Regions from separate parts of the Homo sapiens genome. Here all the other regions are linked to region 3. The links are contacts of gene promoters, found by promoter capture Hi-C in human tissues and cell types (Jung and others, 2019). All regions are on one chromosome and are shown on one strand. Each heading gives the region's core, a stretch centred on a gene start or on the middle of the fragment in contact. The rest is flanking DNA. Distances are from core to core; before and after follow the strand shown. Region 1 overlaps ERRFI1-DT (ERRFI1 divergent transcript). Region 2 overlaps LINC03154 (long intergenic non-protein coding RNA 3154). Region 3 holds the start of RERE (arginine-glutamic acid dipeptide repeats).

Region 1 (3,228 bases), core at 521-3,020, 720 kb before region 3:
GTACTGAAATGTGTGACATTTATTATCCTTATTACACACTAATTTGTCAAACAAAACTGAAGTGTCACATAAAGTGGCACAACTTTGGATGAATAATGAGGTGGACCGTGGTGGATCTTTTGAAAGACACAGGCTGATCAGACTGGGATGACAGCGTGTCATTGACTAAGGAGAGAGCATTCAAGGTCATCTATCAGTTGGGGTTAAGATGTCTATTGCGAGCCAGGAGAGGTGGCTCATGCCTGTAATCCTAGCACTTTGAGAGGCCATGGAGAATTGCTTGAGGCCAGGAATTTGAGACCAGCCTGAGCAACATGGCAAGACCCCATCTCTACAAAATATATTTTTTTTTCCAAGAAGAAAACAAAGTTAACTGGGCATGGTGGCATGCACCTCTAGTCCTAGCTACTCAGGAGGCTGAGGCAGGAGGAGTGCTTGACCCTGGAAGGTGGAGGCTGCAGTGAACTATGATCGCGCCCCTGCACTCCAGCCTGAGTGACAGAGCAGACTCTGTCTCCAAAAAAAAAAAAAAACAAAAAGTCTGTTGCTTTAAGTGCTTTGTTTATTCATCCAACAGATAGTTTTTGATAATATACTGTGTTGGGCGCTGCAAGGTATAAAAAGATGAGTAAGACACGGCTCCTATCACCAGTGAGTTTATAATCTAACAGGGAAATAACTATACAATCAGGCAGTTTGTGATATGTGTCATGGGCATTCATGAAAGTGGCAGAGGTCAGGGGGCGGGGGTCCCTTCCAGCTGGGAGGAATAGGGATGCTTTGTGGAGGAACTGGCATCTGAGCAGGAGGCAGCCGTGCATTCACATTGAGGGGATAAGAAGCTAGGAGACTGTTGGTGAGGCCTCACAGGGAGGCTCCACCTGGACTGGACTTTGGAGGCCAGGTCATTCATTTGACACAGAGGAGACTGAGGAGACATTACGAGCCAAGAGCCAGCCCTGAACACGGTATGGGTGTGTTACAGGGGGGCCATCAGGTAGACCGGAGCAGGAGAGAGTTCTGACGATGTAGAATTGGGCAGGTTTTACGTCTGAATGTCAGGTTGCGGAGTCTGCAGGTGGTGGAAAAGTATCAAAGATTTCTGAGCAACGGGCATTTTGGGGCAACAAATCTGGCAGTGAGGTCTAGGATAAACCAAAGGGCAAACGAGACAAGAAACGAGGAGACTCTTGAGATAGTGCAAGTTAGAGGTGAGGAACCAGGATGGATGGGAAAATGACAGGAGAGGCAGGTGAAGATGTCATTTCAAAGGAAGCAAATGAACACGGTTTGAGCAGTATAAACCCTGAAGAGCCATAAAAGCAAAATCTAAATATCAGGGATTATTGAAGGGAAGGAAGAGGGAAGCTGCAGGGTCAGCGTGAGGCTGGAAGTGGAGGCATGGAACAGGGAAGCTGGGAGATGCAACCTCAGTCTGGCAAATCATTATAGACTCTAACCATCAGCATGGTGGAGACCAACTGGTCCCTCCTGCCAGTTGCGTATCTTGAACTCTTCAGGTATGTAACTGATAAATGGCAGCTAGGGTTTCTCAACGCCTCATCCACTCGGAGCCATCTAATCTCCGTCAACACGGTCAGATGTCTGGTTCCTGCTGCTTGGCCTTATTTCCACGGGCTGTCCATGTCAGCATGGAAGTGAGCACTCGTGCAGCTTTGGTGGAGAATAAAGGTCATGTACATACGTGCTCATTTCTAAATGAGCTGTAATTATATTTGCATCTCAGGACTCCATGACTCACCTCTGCCCTTATTAACTCCACCCAGTGATCTGCCTCTTGCATTCAAAGATGAAGTCACTCCATCCACTTCACTTTTCAAATCTTGGCAGAGCTTTCATGATGATTTTTTTCTTTGAAAGGAATCCAAAAGTTTGGATACCAAACTTTCAGAGCCATCAAGGGCTCCTAGGGAGACGCGTCCATCCCCAAATGTGAGGTGTGTTGTGTTGTGTGTTTCTTGCTGAGACATGGTGAGCTCCTCCACATCAGAGGGCAAAGTGCCCATGGGCAGCAAATGTGCTTGTCACGTTGAACTTTAACCAAAGATCAAAAAGCATGGCGGAGATTCGAGTTTCTTAATCTAAGTCGGTTTAAACTCCTGGTGAGAGGGGAGAAGCAAAACAAATATGAGCGTGACATCCTGCTTTTAGCGCTGAGAGCCGTGGTTCACAGGAAAAGGCTGTGAATCAGAAGGGGCCAAGAGCTCATCCTCTGGTCAGCACAAGCGATGTTTTCCACAAGGGAATGAGCCGAAGTGAAGAAGGCAGAAAAACACTGGAATCCCTTAAAATGCCTTGTTGTAAACACACGTCTCAAGTATTTGTTGAGTATTTACTATGGTGAGGAGATTGTCTTAAGTGCAAAGAAGACATAGTTTCTGCTCTTTTGGATTTACATTAGACAGTTACTAAGATAAATGGGAGGATCTGGAGATGAGGATTTTTCATTGTTTGTGGATGTGGGAAGCAGTCTTCACAGATGCAGTATTGGAGACCAGTATCCTTGGTAACAATGGTGAAATTATTTATTTTCTCTAAAAAATTGTGATTTTTAAAATACTTTAACTATCAGATACTAGAAACATAAAATAATGATTCCCAGTTGCTAAGATTCATATCGGCTAAACATTCACGAGGTTCCTATAACATGCCCTCACATACCTTACCTTATTCCGTGACCGCAACAACTTTGTGAGATCGTTTTATCACCCCCATTTTACAGATGAGGAAACTGAGTCTTGGAGAGGTCAAATAACCTCCCCAACCTCCTACTAGTAAGTGGCAGAACAGGGATCAAAACCCCAGGTCTTCTAGTCATAAATTCTCTGCCTTCCACTCTATCAAAGCTGCCCCATGAGGAAAAAACACCTAAAATTGACTCATCTCTATGCCTATGGAAAAAACCTACCTAACCCCTGAAGTCAAGGAAACTTAAAATTCTCCTGCCAGATAGACTTCAGCGCTGAAGGACTTTAGGTTTCAGAATCCCTTCTTATACACCACTCCCACTTTGGGGTCTAATGAGGCTACCACATGAAATCTATCAAGCAAATCTGAGATTTTCAGGGCAAATTGAAAAATCCATAATGTTTACATGGTCTAGATAAATTGTTATTGTTTATTTATATTCCAATTTCCTAAGAACTGATAGTAAAACTATCCTTACATGAACATGAAGAAAATTTCCAACACTCCAATATTATTTGT
Region 2 (3,281 bases), core at 600-3,099, 520 kb before region 3:
CCAACCCAGGTCACAAACCAGTGATGATGGAGAGGAGAATTCCACGAGTTAGCCAGGGCGCAGCGGGACAGAGGGAACCTGGCTCCTTACTTACAACAGCTTCTTGGAGCAAGGAATCTTGGACAAAAAAATAAAAGCATTAGATCGGTTCAAGGCTATTTGTTCAACTCCACATCTAACTCTGCTCTGGGTCCCAGAGACACCAACGTACACAAGATTCACTTCTTATGTCCCAGGAGCCCATGGTCTACCCAGGAAAGCAGAGAGGAGAAAGAAGACCTGTTCTGTGAGGCTGAATAATTGAGCTGTGGGTAGGAACCTGAAGAGAGCAGAGCCAGGGCAGACCCCAAGGAGGGGAACTGAGCTGAGCCTGGCAAGATGAACCCCAGCTTGCCCTCCTCCATTGAGTGTGGTGAGGAGGCCCACAAAGGGCCTAGAAATGTTCATCATGGAGCTTGGGAGAGAGGGAGAGAGGGGCCGCTCAAACTGTGTATGTTGGTATCACCATTATAATTGCCTACACTTTACAAAAAGGCAAAACTGTTCAAAACTGTCACTTTCTGAAAAGGTGACAGAATTCAGAGGTGGAGACTCCACCCAAGTACCGTCAGGCACAGCTGCTGCTGGGAAGCCTCTCCAAAATGAGTTGAAGGCCACAGGCCTTGGATGCTGGGCAGATAGCAGAGACTGCTGGGCACCCCGGTGCCACAGAGTGCAAGAAGGTTCTCCCCCAACAGCCCCTTCCACGAACACCCTGGCACCTGCCCTGCATGGTCCTGCTTCTAGGAACTTTCTTTCTTTTTTTTTTTTTTTTTAGACAGAGTCCTACTCTTGTTGCCCAGGCTGGAGTGCAGTGGCACTGTCTCGGCTCACTGCAACCTCTGCTTCCTGGGTTCAAGCGATTCTCCTGCCTCAGTCTCCCAAGTAGCTGGGATTACAGGTGCCCGCCATCAAGCCCATGTGTCTCTGTGTTGTCATTTAATGTCAGTGCAAGGACTCTGATCAGCTATATTGAAATAATATATTACATATAATAATATTGAAATAGTTATCATGGGAATGTAGAAAATCACTTGTTTTCTTAATCAAAGGTTTAAAATGCTTTTGGAATTATTTTAATAAGTATTATTTTTACCCATTTCAGAGTCTTATAGAGAACAAATCTACAGCAGCCCTGGGGCTCCTCAGGGAGAACAGCGATGGGTATTTTGGGAGGGGCCTCATGGTGGCCCCACAGGCTGAGGAGCGAGCTGTCTGATTAGTGCATTTGGAGAAGGGGTGAGCATTCTCAGCTGAGAGCCTCTTGCTTTTGGGGAGTGTTTTGACTAATAGTGGCCAATTATTCACACCATGATAAAAAATATCAGTCATGATAGATAGCAAGCTCTTCTCGTGTTCACGACTCGGAGTGAGGTAGCGTTCTGATTCTCTTCCCTTTGTTACCAGAAAAGGGTCCCAATCCAGACCCCAAGAGAAGGTTCTTGGATATCACACAAAAAAGAATTCGGGGTGAGTCCATACAGTAAAGTGAAATCAAGTTTATTAGGAAAGTAAAGGAATAAAGAATGGCTGCTCGTGGACTGCTCAGCTACTTGTACTTACTGTTACTTCTTGGTTATGTGCTAAACAAGGGGTGGGTTATTCATGAGTTTTCCAGGAAAGAGGTGGGCATTTCCTGGGACTAAGGGTTCCTCCCCTTTTTAGACCATGAAGGGTAACTTCCTAACATTGCCATGGCATTTGTAAACTGTCATGGCGCTGGCGGGAGGGTCTCTTAGCATGCTAATGCACAAAAATTAATATATAATGAGCCGTGAGGATGACCAGAAATCACTTTCGTCACCATCTTGGTTTTGGTGGGATTCGGCCAGCTTCTTTACAACATGCTATTTTATCAGGAAGGTCTTTGTGACCTGTATCTTGTGCCAACCTCCTATCTCATCCTGTAACTAAGGATGCCTTAACCTCCTGGGAATGCAGCCCAGTAGGTCTCAGCCTTATTTTACCCAGCTCCTGTTCAAGATGGAGTTGCTCTAGTTTGAATGCCTCTGACACCTTGAATTCATTTTTGGGTCTGAAATGGACACTGTGAGCTGGCCAAAGAGGGGAACTGGGTACCTACTTACTGATTGAGTTTCAAAGGAGAGCTCTTAACTTCATGAGAAATGCATCCTAATCTCCCACATTAATGAGATGCTTCCAAGAATGATTATACTCCTTGATTATTGATTAATAGATTGACGCAGCCCAGAATGAGGTCTCTAGGGACACAGTGCAGGGCTCAGATATCTAAGGTCCCGTAACCCCTCTGAGAATGTAGTATCGCAGAAGTGTGTTCTGTTAATCAGGGTGGGCCAAGGGCACAAGTAATCCCCAAAGCTCAGGGGGCAAACACAAAAAGTGGCTCCCTTGAGTTCAGAGGTCAGGTGGCTCTCCTCCTGCAGCAACTCAGGAATCCAGTATGCTTCCCTCTCACAGATCTGCCATCTGGAAGTTATTTGCTAACAGCCCCTGATGAGAGAGCAAAAGTGTGAAGAGCTCACACCTGCTCTAACACGTTGAACTGATAGCAACCATCACTTCCACTCACATCCATATTGGCAAGAACTCAGTCACATGATCTCACCCTAGCAAGGGCTACTGGGAAACGGAGTCTTCCTGTGCACCCAGGAAGAAGAAATGGCGTAGTGAATGGGAAACAATCCCCAGGCCCCGTGTAAGTAGAAAGCAATTGTCTTCATTGTGTTTAATTGTACTAAGGCCTATCAGGAGATTCACAAAGCTTCATAAAACCAACTTTTTTTTTTTTTTTTTTTGAGACAGGGTCGTACTCTGTCATCCAAGCTGGAGTGCAGTGGTGCAATCATGGATCACTGCAGCCTCAACCTCCCAGGCTCAGGTGATCCTCCCACCTCAGCCTCCCAGTAGCTGGGACTACTACGGGTGTGCGCCACGGTGCCTGGCTAATTTTTGTATTTTTTGTAGTGATAGGGGTCTCACTATGTTTCCCAGGCTGGTCTTGAACTCCTGGGCTCACACAATCTACCAGCCTTAGCCTCCCAAAGTGCTGGGATTACAGGTGTGGGCCACTGCACCTAGCCTCAACCCTCTTTGTGTAAGACAAGTAACTTTGCTCAAGATGAATCCTTAGTGGACAAAAATTTCCCTCTTGTCAGTTCTCTGCTTATATAGTTGCTTATTTCTAAGTCTGACTCAGGCAAGAGGTTTGGCCCCCCACAAGTAGAAACTAATGGGAGTGTTGTCATTGGAACATCTGCACG
Region 3 (2,933 bases), core at 406-2,905:
TAGTATTAACTCAGCAAGCAAATCCATGGAACAAAATATCAACCCAAAGATGATTTTATTATTGTACAGATCCAGCTTCTCTCCCCTCCCCCAACAGACTGAGACTAAAAAGACCAGTGTACACTAGACAAAAAGGTCTCTCTTTAAATGGAAAGCAATTATGAAAACTGTTTCAAATCTTAGATGCATCAATTCCTGCTATATTAAAATGTCTATTTTGTAATTCACCAAGTTCACCCTCTTACTAGTTATCTTTTTTTGCGTTTAAAAATTCGCTGTGAAGAAGGCTATTTCACGATTCATACAAAACTACTTTCTAAATGTACCTTAAAAAAGCAACAGATACTGAAACATTTAAAGCACCCAGTTTCTCAAGGACCCATTTTACTTAAATCAATGTTTGAAGTCTGTAATCCAGAAAAATTGTAAGCAAACCTTGGAAAAGAGACAGAGGAAAATGACAATTCAACAATGAATCATTCTGTTTTCCTTTCAACAACTTCTCAAGCAACCAGTTTCAAAGGAAGCCTGCAACACTTTTCCCCCCTCCTAGCAGACACACATACACACGTGTATGTAAAACTACGAATCTTTCCATCATCTTAAAAATTAGTAATAAATAGAAGCCACCCTCCTTCAGAGAGCAGAACTAAAACAGGATAGTAAGAATTCTATTCTGCTGCAAGTGACTTTGGGTTTCATAATTTTCTAATCACATACAGCTGAGAACTAGAGATTGGGAGCACAAAGAGGAAATCTTCCCCCAATGAGAAAATGATACTTTAATAATAAAGTCCTCCCCCCAGCACCCCGAAATCCACAAACATTCAAGAAATTTACAGTTTCAGTCCTTGACTTCCTTCCCTTCCAGTTTCAGCCAATAATGTAGTCACATGAAATAGTTTAACCTCAAACAAGTAGAACAAGAGCATGAATAAGAGGCCAAGAGAGAGCAGGGGTCAGAAGGCACGCAGGAACGGTCACCTGGCCCGGACAGGACCAAAGAAGTGCCCTGCCCTCGCCCGACTCCCCTCGACTTCGGCTTCGACCCCAGCCTTTTCTTCCTGCCTCCCCCCGGGCGAGTGACTGCTTTCACGGCCGACCCTCTCTGACCACCAGGACGAGGGGCCAAAAAAGAAAGCACACGACCCGGCGCGGGCAAGTTGGACACTTACCTTCCCCTAAAGCGCTACACCATCAATAGTGAGGTGTTCGCGGCCCAGCTCCGGGGAAAGTGGCGGGGATGGGGCGGGAGGCCGCGCGGAGGCTGCGGGGCCGCGGGGCGCAGGGCCGAGAGGGGCGGCCCGCGGGGAGGCGACGCGGAGGGGCTGAGGGGGCTTCCCTGCCGTGACCTTTCCTGCGACTTGAACCTAGGCTCCCTCCTCCTCGGTCGGGCAGATCTTTCAGAAGCAGGAGCCCAGGATCATGTCTGGTTTTGTTTTCCGAGGGCGAGGGGGCTCCCTGAGGATGATGGTGATTTTTTTTTTTTTTTAATCCTCAACTAGGAGAGAAAATGAGGCAGAGACAATGTGGGGAGCGAGAGAGGGGAAAAGGACGGGGGAGGAGGCGGGGACCGAGGCCCAGCGGGGCGAGCGTCTCGGGGTGTGCGGGAGGCTGAGGAGGCTCCGGAGCGCGGAGGGTTGCTCGCGAGCGTCTGTGGGAACAGCGGCACCTCCGCGATGGTGGCGGAGCCGCGGCGGAGCTGCTGCACCGACCCGCCGCCCACTCCCCGCTCGGGCCCGGCCCACCTCGCAGTATCGCGCCCCTCCATTGGTACAGCGCGGTGTGACGCGGCCGGGGGCCCGGCCAATGGGAGGCGGAGGAGGCGGGATCTCTTTTTCCTTTTTTTTTTTTTTTTTTTTTTTTTTTTAATCTTTTTAATAAAATGAGCAGAGAAGAAGGCGGAGAGAGGCCGAGCCTTGACAACGCCGCGGCCCGGGGCTCGAGGGCTCGCGCTGCAGGCGGCGGCCAGAGGCGGTGGGCTGGGCTCCCGCCGCGGGCGCGTCTTTGTGAGAGTGCGAGGCCGGCCCTCCTCCGCCGCCCGCCGCGCTCCAGTACCGCCCCCCGCGCCCCCCGGGCTGGGCCGGGCTGGCGGCGCGGGCAGGTCCCGGGTGGGGTGGGGGGAAGTCCGGTTGATCTTGCTGTTACCCGGGTCTTAATTGGCCTTTTCAGTCATTAGGACGCGGATCCATGTTGCTGCGGGCTACAGAGTGGGTGTAAACCATTCTCATATGGACTCTTTCGAAATTCTGATGAGCGGCTTGTAATATTTTTCAAATAGTGTACATGACAAAAGATGAATTACAGAAAGAAAAATAAAAGTGATAAGTCGCACTGCTTATTTGAAAAGAATAAAAAGTGTCATGAAGGCATAAAGGAGAGACTGTACAGGTACAGAAGGGATTTTAGAAAGAGCAGTGTACAACTCTATAAGGTACGTGTGAAAAAAAATCTAAAAAGAGGAAAAGACCAAACATCACCTCTTTTTCTTTGAAGAATGAAGTATTGTGTCCCACTTCCCGAAAGCCTGATAATCACAGGGTCTATCATGCTGTAAAGGGAGTAGGGGCAGGCCAAATGATCATATTCTAGTTCATATAATTTATGGGATTGAGGGGTTTGGAAATTTCAATTATGATTAGCAGTTTTTGAAATGCACATCATGTTTATTGAGTTCTTTCACAGAGCCTGGCACGAATCCAGGGTGAATCATCAACCTATTGTTGGTTTGTTAATATTCTGTAAATGCTTATTGGTGTCCTTATACCATACACTCTTCCCGAAGGAGTTAAGGTCCGTATAAAATAAGGGGTAGAAAACGTAGCACAAAATAATTCACTCATCTGTTTCAAAAGAAGTGATAATTTTCTCCTTGGAAAATCTATTCAGATTATAATTTCCACATTGAATTATTCATTTTTTTTTTTTTTCTG

Evidence for each region. The method cuts DNA at HindIII sites, captures the fragments that hold promoters and counts their contacts. A contact is called where the count stands out against the background at its distance.
Region 1: a contact is called between a fragment that was not itself captured here and the fragment with the promoter of RERE in region 3, in 1 of the 25 tissues and cell types used here (heart left ventricle).
Region 2: a fragment that was not itself captured here is called in contact with the fragment with the promoter of RERE in region 3 in 1 of the 25 tissues and cell types used here (aorta).

Annotation. Positions count from the first base shown.
Region 1 is chr1:8,092,942-8,096,169 of GRCh38, forward strand. The region is part of intron 2 of ERRFI1-DT (ERRFI1 divergent transcript); the gene reads left to right. Among named protein-coding and RNA genes, the nearest start is that of ERRFI1-DT, 68 kb to the left of the region's middle. RefSeq lists an enhancer at 1,528-2,727. The HindIII fragment of the contact is 3,721 bases long and covers 1-3,228 here.
Region 2 is chr1:8,294,863-8,298,143 of GRCh38, forward strand. It overlaps LINC03154 (long intergenic non-protein coding RNA 3154), which reads left to right. Exons shown (of 2, transcript XR_007065454.1): 2 at 1-1,587. Among named protein-coding and RNA genes, the nearest start is that of SLC45A1, 22 kb to the right of the region's middle. The HindIII fragment of the contact is 7,461 bases long and covers 1-3,281 here.
Region 3 is chr1:8,815,985-8,818,917 of GRCh38, forward strand. It overlaps RERE (arginine-glutamic acid dipeptide repeats), which reads right to left and starts at 1,656. Exons shown (of 23, transcript NM_001042681.2): 1 at 1,176-1,656. RefSeq lists silencers at 1,254-1,313, 1,564-1,863, 1,964-2,193 and an enhancer at 1,606-1,900. The HindIII fragment of the contact is 13,824 bases long and covers 1-2,933 here.